Regions from separate parts of the Homo sapiens genome. Here all the other regions are linked to region 2. The links are contacts of gene promoters, found by promoter capture Hi-C in blood cells and fetal thymus (Javierre and others, 2016). All regions are on one chromosome and are shown on one strand. Each heading gives the region's core, a stretch centred on a gene start or on the middle of the fragment in contact. The rest is flanking DNA. Distances are from core to core; before and after follow the strand shown. Region 1 has its middle 19 kb from the start of OR1D5. Region 2 holds the start of OR1A2 (olfactory receptor family 1 subfamily A member 2). Region 3 overlaps OR3A2 (olfactory receptor family 3 subfamily A member 2).

Region 1 (3,119 bases), core at 451-2,950, 120 kb after region 2:
GGAAAACCAGACATGGTATGTTCTCACTCATAAGTGGGAGCTAAGCAATGAGGACATAAAGGCATAAAAATGATACAATGGGCTTTGGGGACTCAGGGGAAAGGGTGGAAGGAGGTGAGGACTACACATTGGGTAGAGTGTACACTGCTCAGGTGATGGATGCACCAAAATCTCACAAATCACCACTAAGGAACATCCTTGTAACCAAATACCACTTGTTCCCCAAAAACCTATTGAAATAAAAAATAGGGGATAAAAAGCAATGGCTATAATGATATCAGCAAAATGGCAGAATAAAATGTCCTAGCCTTCTCTCCCTGCAACAGAAAGTTCTACTAGCAGCTATCCACAGACAAGTATACCTCAGTGAAAACCCCCAAACCTTGAGAATAAGCCTGAAATACTTGTGTGTATCACAGAAACAAATAAGAACTGCATTTGAAGAGCAAGAGAAATGCACTCACTTCAACCACATTGTCCCTTGCCCTCCCTCAACATGGCACAGTGCCATAAACAGAGAATTTCCCTGGGCCCACAGTTTCTACAGTGGGAAAAGGGAGCTGAAGATGGACATCTAGCTTCCCTAGCATTCTGAGACATCTCTCAGGATGCCCACTCCAGTCTCACCTCACAGAGATCACAGGGGGTAATGACATGGCTCACTGCCTGTGGTCAGATAGAAACAAAGAATGGAGGTATTGCTCACAGCAACTAGTGCTCACATTTTGATGGTGCTCTGTGCTGTGGCCTGCAGAGGCATCCAATCAAAGGTACCAGCTCAGCTCGTCCTCAAAGCCCACCTCAAGACGCCATCCAGCGAGGGAGAAATGAAACACGGCAACTGTTGGCAAAGTACAAAGCCTGACTTACACCACCCAGAAATTCAAACAGCTCTCAAGTCAGCCTCAAAGCTTATCCAAGACCCCACCCAGGGAGGGTGTTGCCCAATACAATGCCTTTCAGTAAACAATGGGCTAAACTTAGACCACCCAAAAATTGAAATAGCAGTTCACATCAGCCTCAAAACCCACTCCAGGGCTTCACCCTGACAGGGAGCCAAGCCTCAACCATACATCTCTCTGATCATAGCAGCTGATCCTGATCATCCCAAGTAGTAATTCTGACTAACCTTGGGGTCCAACCTGCAGCCTGACCCAATTGCAGAACTCAAATAGAGGTCCTGCCTGGCCAGTGAACATACCCTGTGTTTCAGCCCAATCAGAAGCAATTGCAGCACCCAGCCAGAAGTTCTGCCTGATTCCAAAGCCAAGCCTGTGGTCTAACGGAAAATGGAGCCTAGCCAGTAGTCCCATTCCAACCTCAGAGCAAAGGCCTTGGCCCCACAAATGAGAGAACCTGATGGCAGGCTCTGTCTATTCCATGTCATTACCAGCTGGCCCATCCAAAATCACAGGCTAGACTTAAGAGTGAAGGTCTATCCCAAGAATACCTGTAAAATCTGGAAGAGCTGACTATTTCCTCAATGTGCAGACACCAACAAAAGACACAAGGATTATGAAGAATCAGGGAATCATGACACCTCCAAAAGAAAAAAAACTAATAAAGATATAACGATAAATCCTGCAAAAATGAAGATCCATGAAAGGATTCACAATAAATCCAGAATTGTCCTCTTAAAGAAGTTCAGTGAACTACAAGAATATACAGATAGAAAATTAAATTCATTTGGAAAATAATTAAGAATACAAATAACTACAAAAAAATATAAAAATATGTAAATTCTGAAATCAAGGAGATATATGTGGAAGTGTGAAGATTATGTGTGGAGTTTTTCTATGTGGATAAGTTGTTATCAGCTTCAAACAGATTGTTATAAGAATTTCTATCCAAACCTCATGGTGACCACAAGGAAAAAGCCATTGTACAATAAAAAAATAAGATTGACAGGGCATGGTGGCATGTGCCTGTAGTCTCAGCCACTCAGGAAGCTGAAGTGGGAGTATCCCTTCAGCCTAGGAGCTGGAGACCACAGTAAGCTAGGATCGTGCCACTGCAATCCAGCCTGGGCAACAGAGTGAAACCCTGTCTCTTAAAATTAATAAATAAAAGTAACTTAAAAATAAAGAAAAAAGGATAAAATTATATCACTATTTTAAAAAATCATCAGATCACAAAAAATACAATAAGAGATGGGCATCAGTCTTTCCCAGCATTCCAAGATACCTATCAGGATGCCCACTCCAGTCTCACCTCACAGAGATCACAGGGGGGTAATGGCATGATTGACTCACTGTGGTCAGATAGAAACAAAGAAGGGAGGTATTTCTTTGAGAAAGAGAACCAAAGACTGACAAAAAAGGCAGAACACAATCACAAATTGACCATAGTAAGTGTCTGCCTATCAGTAATTACTTCAATAATTACTTCAAGTATAAGAAAATCACACTCATTATTCAAAATATATACAGCAGCTGAATGAATTAAAATACATGATCCAACTATGTGCTTTCTACAAGACACAAGCTTTAAATTTAAGGACACACAGAAACTGAAAGTTAAGGGAAGAAGAAAAATACATTCCATGCAAATAATAACCAAGTGATGTGGTTTGGCTCTGTGTCTCCACCCAAATCTCACTTCAAATTGTAACCCTTAGTGTCAGGGGAGGAACCTGGTGGGAGGTGATTGGACCATGGCAGCAGATTTTCCTCATGTTATTCTCATGATAGTGAGTGAGTTCTCCTGAGATCTGATAGTTTAGAAGTGTGGCACGTCCCCCGCCCCTCTCTCTCCCCTGCTGCCATGTAAGATGTACCTTGCTTCCCTTTCACTTTCTGCCATGATTGTAAGTTTCCTGAATGCTTCCCCAGCTATGCAAAAATGTGAGTCAATTAAACCTCTTTTTTTATATACATTATCCAGTGTCAGGTAGTTTTTATAGCAATGTGAAAATGGACTAATACAGAAAATTGGTATCAGCGGAGTAGGGTACCTCTATAAAGATACCTGAAAATGTAGAAGCAACTTTGGAACTGGGTAAGGAGCAGAGGTTGGAACAGTTTAGAAGACTCAGAAGAAGAGAGGAAGATGTAGGAAAGTTGGGAACTTCCTAGAGATTTGTTGAATAGTTTTGGACAAAATGTTGAAAGTGATAATGG
Region 2 (3,213 bases), core at 290-2,789:
ATACCAGCTCTATAATACATGAATGAATACTATGCAGTTTGATTATGTTTATTCATTATCAGATTGTATTTCAGAAACTAATATTTTTATACATTTTCCTGCTTTCCACCAATATTTTATATGATCAAAATACTAAAAAAGTAAGTGATATGTTAACACAGCTTTTGCCACCAGAGTACAAGTATAGTAGGGGTGGCTAGACATAAAAGTCCAGTAAAGATTACATTAGAATAGTAATTTGCAGCCTTCAAAGCATGAGCCATTTTGATATACACAAGCTGTGTCAGAGAGTCCGGCAGATATTATTTTCCTAACATGTAGATATGCAAGCTGAGACTCAGACTTTTTCAACTTTACTCTGCTAGTAAATTTCTGCTAACTGGGACATGAACCTGATATTCCCAGCCTGCCACTCTCTCAAAAAAGAGCAGGAATTTGTCCAAAGTGATAATTTCAATAAAATATCACATCCGTTACAAGATTTCTGGTAGAGGAATTTCTGGCTCAAAAGAACAAAAGGAGCTTCTTGAAGGGCAATGACATTGGAGCTGGATTTCCAAGTGTATCCCACTTGGTCATTACAGTATCCAGCGTGTAATCTCACAGCGGCTATGAGGAGATTCTCTTGCTGAAGAGTTTCTGTAGGGCTGCCTTCATATCCCAATTTCTCAGACTATAGATGAAAGGATTTAATGCTGGGGTCACTGCCACATACATCACAGTTATCACTGCATCTTTGGGGCTGTAACTGGTCAGAGGGCGGAAATACATGCCCATCGTTGTACCATAATATAAAAAAACAACTGTGAGGTGGGAGCCACAGGTGCAGAAGGCTTTGAATAGACTCTTGGTAGATGGAACTTGGAAGACTGTGGAAAAGACCTGAACATAGGAGACAATGATGCATAGTAATGGCAAAGAGAAAACGCCGACCCCTAGGTACATCATCTTCACATTAAAGTGGACGTCAGAACAGGACAACTTCAGCAAAGGCATAATGTCACAGTAGAAATTGGCTACTTCCTGGTTGCCACAGAAGGACAAACTAGCTGTGAGCAGAGTGTGGGGGAGAGCACTGGTGTTTCCAATCACCCAAGACCCAGCAATAAGCAGGATACAAGACCGTGGACTCATAATTGTTGTGTAATGAAGTGGGCAGCTGATGGCCACAGCTCGATCGTATGCCATTGCAGCCAAGGTATAGCTGTCTGCCTTGGCCAAGGCTATCATGAAATACATCTGCATTAGGCATCCCCCAAAGGAGATGAACTTGCTCCCCAAGAGATGGTTGGCCAGCACCTTAGGGATGGTTACGGATGAGAAGATGATGTCAACCAAGGAGAGGTTGGCAAGGAGAAAATACATGGGGTTGTGAAGGCGAATGTCAGCACAGATGGCCAAGATGATGAGCAGATTTCCAGTCAGTGTGATGGGGTAAATGCACAAAAAAATCACAAAGAAGACATTATTCTGTTCTTGCTGACTAGTAACTCCCAGGAGAATAAAATCCAGGTTAAAGGATTGATTTTCTTTCTTCATGGCTTCTTCAGCATGAAAGGGGAGAGGAACCCAGAATTATTAGCGCAGTTAGTGTGTGTTATAGTCTGCCTTATCTACCACTTAAACGTTTTTAATTATTTTACAAATTCACCTGCTGTCAAACTTATCCACCACTTTTCATTAGCCATGGCTATACCTGGTTTTTACAATCATAAATATAGCCAGCACTTTTGGGTAAAATCTCTGTTGGTCAATGGGACGAACTCTCATTGACCTCCTGGACACTCATGTCAAAGAAGTTAGCGATCTGTGAAGTAAAGATGGTTGTCCTTCCAAATGTAGCACCACCACCTTAATATCTATAATTTAATCACATAACAAAAACCTAATTTCATGTTTCATGTCTTAGATTTTTTTTTACTTTGTAGAGAAACAATAAATATGTGAAAATACAGTTATTCATCCACTTATTTGTTACACAAGACATAGCATCTGTTCTCAAGGACCTTATAATTGAATAGGAAAGCCAGACTCACACAATAATTTTATTACACATGGTAAGAAAAGGATAGCCTCTTGGAGTCCTTGTGAAAAAAACAAACAAAAAATCCTCCAGTGCAAAGGATGTATCATAGTAGGAATGCAGTGAACAATTTAAAGTTGTTCCTCCAACCAGTCTCGGGGTGAGCCCAGAGCCCAGGAAGTCAGAGGTGTCTACACTGCCATCAGATTCTAAAACAGAAAGACAACTGGCATTAGGTCCTAGAAAAACAAGCTCAGTGAACTTACTCCACAGGTGTTCGATTTTCAAAGATATTCCCTATCTTTTTGACAGCTTTTCTCTCTTTTCAAAGCCCATAACTATACATAATCACAGTGCTTTTTCCACTGGCCTTTGTCTTGGTTCATTTTGTGTTGCTATAACAGAATACTTGAGACTGGGGAATTTATAAGAAAAGAGGTTGAATTGTCTCATGGATCTGTAGGCTGGGACATTCAAGAGCGTGGCCCTGGCTTCTGGCAAGGGCTTTCTTGCTGCATCATAACCTGTCAGAGAAGGTCAACAGGGAAGTGGATACAGGGGAAGAGAGAAAACCCGAGAAGTATACTGGTTTTATCACAACCCACTCCTGTAGGAACATTCCCTTAAGATTAATCCAGTCTTGAGAGAATGAGAACACACTTACTACCATGAGAACAGCACCAGACCACTCATGAGGGATCCACCCCCTTGACTCAAACGCTTCCCACTAGGCTTTACCTCCCAACACCTCCCACACTGGGGATCACATTTCAACATGAGTTTTGGTGAGGGCAAACTCAATCCATAGCAGTCTTCTCTTCCTTGTCTTCCTTATTTCTTTTTGTAGTAATCCAAGTCCACAGTGGATTCAACTATTCTTTAGTAAACTGTCATGTCTGTATCTGTGGTCTCGATTTCTTTTTCCCATATTTCCATATTCAGTCATCCTGCTAACATGTCTGACCAAACCCCACACTCTGCACTTAAAACCTAAGTAGTTTGCAAGATGTTTCTTTTCTTTTTTTTTTTTTTTTTTTGAGACAGAGTCTCACTCTGTTGCCCAGGCTGGAGTGCAGTGGCGAGATCTCAGCTCACTGCAAGCTCCACCTCCTGGGTTCACGCCATTCTCCTGCCTCAGCCTCCCGAGTAGCTGGGACTACAGGCACGCGCCACCATGCCTGGCTAATTTT
Region 3 (2,960 bases), core at 410-2,909, 110 kb before region 2:
CTGCTTTCTCCTGACATACCGGAGGCTGTGTCGTCTCCTTTTCTGACACAATGTTAAGGAAGGGAACTTCCTCCTTGAAGACTCATTGCAGGTCTCCTCCTTTCCAGAAACTGCCTATGAGTCCCTGGGGCCAGGCTAGGAGGCCTTCCTCTGTCTTCCCATAGCAATCCAAAGGCAGTACATGCAGGCGATCCTCAGTTTTTATCTCCCTCCCAGACACTAAGTTGTTGACCCTAATGCCTGTGTGTTGGATATTTCTACCTGAACATCCCACAGGAACCCAAGATGTACAAAACCTTTTGTACAAAATGCGCACACACACAAGCACGCGTGCGTGTGTAAATCCAGTTGAACCACATGCCTTGTTGTGGAAAAACTTGGAAGTATAAGAGTGACACTCACTTATGTTTGACTCTATAAACCCAATTTTTGTTCTTAGTCTTTCTCTTACACTAACAATGTCTTTTGAAGTTATTAGTGGTTTTTGTTTTCTATTTGATTTTAAGTGGTTCTTAGTCTTTCTCTTACACTAACAATGTCTTTTGAAGATATTAGTGGTTTTTGTTTTCTATTTGATTTTAAGTGGAGAAAATAAAAGGGGTTACGGTTTTTTTTTTTTTTTTGAAGAGTAGTAGAGCACAGTGATCCCCTGCACTCTCCCTATTCCACATGGAGAGGGGCTAAGGTTGAGCGTCACTAGACTACACACACTATGGCAAGCTTTTCAGTAGAAAGGGACCCCACCCCCCACAAACACTCTATATATTTGTAGGAATTGGAAGGGGGAGTGGGAGCATCTAGGTAACTGCATTACATCTGGTGCCTCCTGGATGAGGAAGTAACCTCATCAAAATGGGGGTGGCTGGATGCGGTGGCTTGTGCCTCTAATCCCAACAGTTTGGGAGGCTGGAGTGGGGGGATTGCTTGAGGCCAGGCGTTCTAGATCAGGGGCAACATAATGAAACCCTGTCTCTACAAAAAAAATTAGCTGACTGTGGTGGCACAAACATGTAGTCCCAGCTACTTGGGAGGCTAAGGTAGGAGGATTGCTTGAGGCCAGGAGTTTGAGGCTGCGTTGAGCTATGATGGCGCCATAGAATTTCGGCCTGGGTAACAGAGCAAGGCCTGTCTCTAAAAAAACAGGCAAACAAACAACAACCAAAAAAGGCAGAGCCTCCAGTGGAGCTCAGCCACTGTTGGCTTGTTCTTCCACTGAGCTGCTGAACCACCTTCTTGAGTATCCAGAGCTGCTTGTTCCGCACACCAAATGCTCCTCTTCACCTTGCTTAACAGAGATAGGATCCTGCCACTCATTATTTGGCATCTATTAATTGAGCACAGTACTATTTTTCAGGTAATATGCTAGTAAAGAGGTGACCAAATACAGACATGCTCCCTCCCTACATGGAGCTTATCAGCTCATAAAGAAGGAAGGCACGAACCAAATAATTACCACCTAATCACTATTCCTATGCACGTGTCCACACACGTCTAATCATTTGTGGTTTACAAAAGGTATGATATTTAATAGAATTTTATTACAAAAGGTATGATATTTAATAGAATTTTATTTTCAACTTTCTTTTACTGTCTTTATATTTGAGCTTCGTGTAATATATTATTCTTCAAAATTTTATGATTTTCTAATATGCTACCATTTGCATGTGCTAACATTCACTTAACCATTGCATACTTAGTTTTCAATTTTTTGCCATTATGAATAATAATACAACAAAGTATTTGCATCTCTGATTTTTGTCCTATGTCATGAGTAATCTCTACCTCCCTAATTTGTGCAAGGATCTCGTCTCTTCCATTGATACTCTACATTCCCAAGACTAGATTCCTTGTTACCTCATGACAAAAGTAAAAATTACTCAGTTATATTTTATATAAGGGGCAGGGAAACATGTAGTCTTCATATCCCCTGCTTATATTCTTCATATTCCTTGCCTATATCTTTGTTTCAAGGGGAGTTTTGATTGGCTTCAAGGCCTGGTGGATTGGTGGTTAACAGAGGTATTTTAACTCTGTCAACTGTGAAGGAAAAAAACGAAGACATACCTCTCCACCCCTCTAGACGCAGACATCAGTACATGTCCCCCTAAATACTTAAGCATGCATATCATAACACAACTTCAATATGTTTATGTCTGTTGTTTATGCAAACTTAATATGCAGTGAAACACAGAAATGTGAAGTGCACACTTACTGAGTTTTGACAAATGCATACACTTACCAAAATACAGAACATTGCCAGCACCCAAAAATGTTACCCCGTACCTTTCTCCAGTTAAAAAATGACTACTCAAAAACAATTATTGTTCTGATTTTTTCAACATAGATTAATTCTACCTATTCTAAAACTTTATATAAGTGGAATCGTACAGTGCATATGCCTTTATGTAAGGCTTCCTTTACTCAACATAATGGATTTTATAGTCATTCATGTTGTAGCATGTATCAATAGTTTATTTTTTATTGCTGAAGTATTCCATCGTATGAATATACCTAGTTTGTTTTTAAATGATTGGTAGAATTCTCCTATGAAATCATATGGACCGCAGGCTTTTGAAGGAAGGGAGGACCAAAGCTTTGTCAATATTTCTGTTTTTTGTTCTGTTTAAATTTTCTTTTTCTTCGTAAACAGTTTTGGGAAATTGTATTTCCTTAGAAAACTACTCTGGCCATGATGATGAAGTGACAGGGACCAGATTTACTCTCCCATTTTAAACAGCTAAGAAACCAAACAAAATCTATGAAGCAGTGGATACCATGCAGGGCAGGACGGTGAATCCTTACCTCTAGAGCAGTGTGAGAAATACAGTTGCCTCAGCTTATTGCCAGAAAGAGTGGCCAACCACACCCAGGGCAAGGAGAACCCAAACAGAGCCCAGTGGTCTTCTGAATTGAGGAGACAGAGTTCAGGCTGGCTGTGGCAGCACGAATTGGTGAGGGAA

What was found. Contacts are between HindIII fragments. The CHiCAGO score rates a contact against its expected background, and 5 or more counts as called.
Region 1: a contact is called between a fragment that was not itself captured here and the fragment with the promoter of OR1A2 in region 2, in 1 of 17 cell types (M1 macrophages). The highest score is 5.8, in M1 macrophages.
Region 3: a fragment that was not itself captured here is called in contact with the fragment with the promoter of OR1A2 in region 2 in 1 of 17 cell types (M1 macrophages); the score reaches 5.1 in M1 macrophages.

The regions. Positions count from the first base shown.
Region 1 is chr17:3,080,656-3,083,774 of GRCh38, reverse strand. No RefSeq gene overlaps it. Among named protein-coding and RNA genes, the nearest start is that of OR1D5, 19 kb to the right of the region's middle. The HindIII fragment of the contact is 1,573 bases long and covers 914-2,486 here.
Region 2 is chr17:3,195,845-3,199,057 of GRCh38, reverse strand. OR1A2 (olfactory receptor family 1 subfamily A member 2) reads right to left here and starts at 1,539. Exons shown (of 1, transcript NM_012352.3): 1 at 610-1,539. The coding sequence starts at 1,539. The coding sequence ends at 610. The HindIII fragment of the contact is 7,515 bases long and covers 1-3,213 here.
Region 3 is chr17:3,304,343-3,307,302 of GRCh38, reverse strand. The region is part of intron 2 of OR3A2 (olfactory receptor family 3 subfamily A member 2); the gene reads left to right. Among named protein-coding and RNA genes, the nearest start is that of OR3A1, 7.5 kb to the right of the region's middle. The HindIII fragment of the contact is 1,873 bases long and covers 723-2,595 here.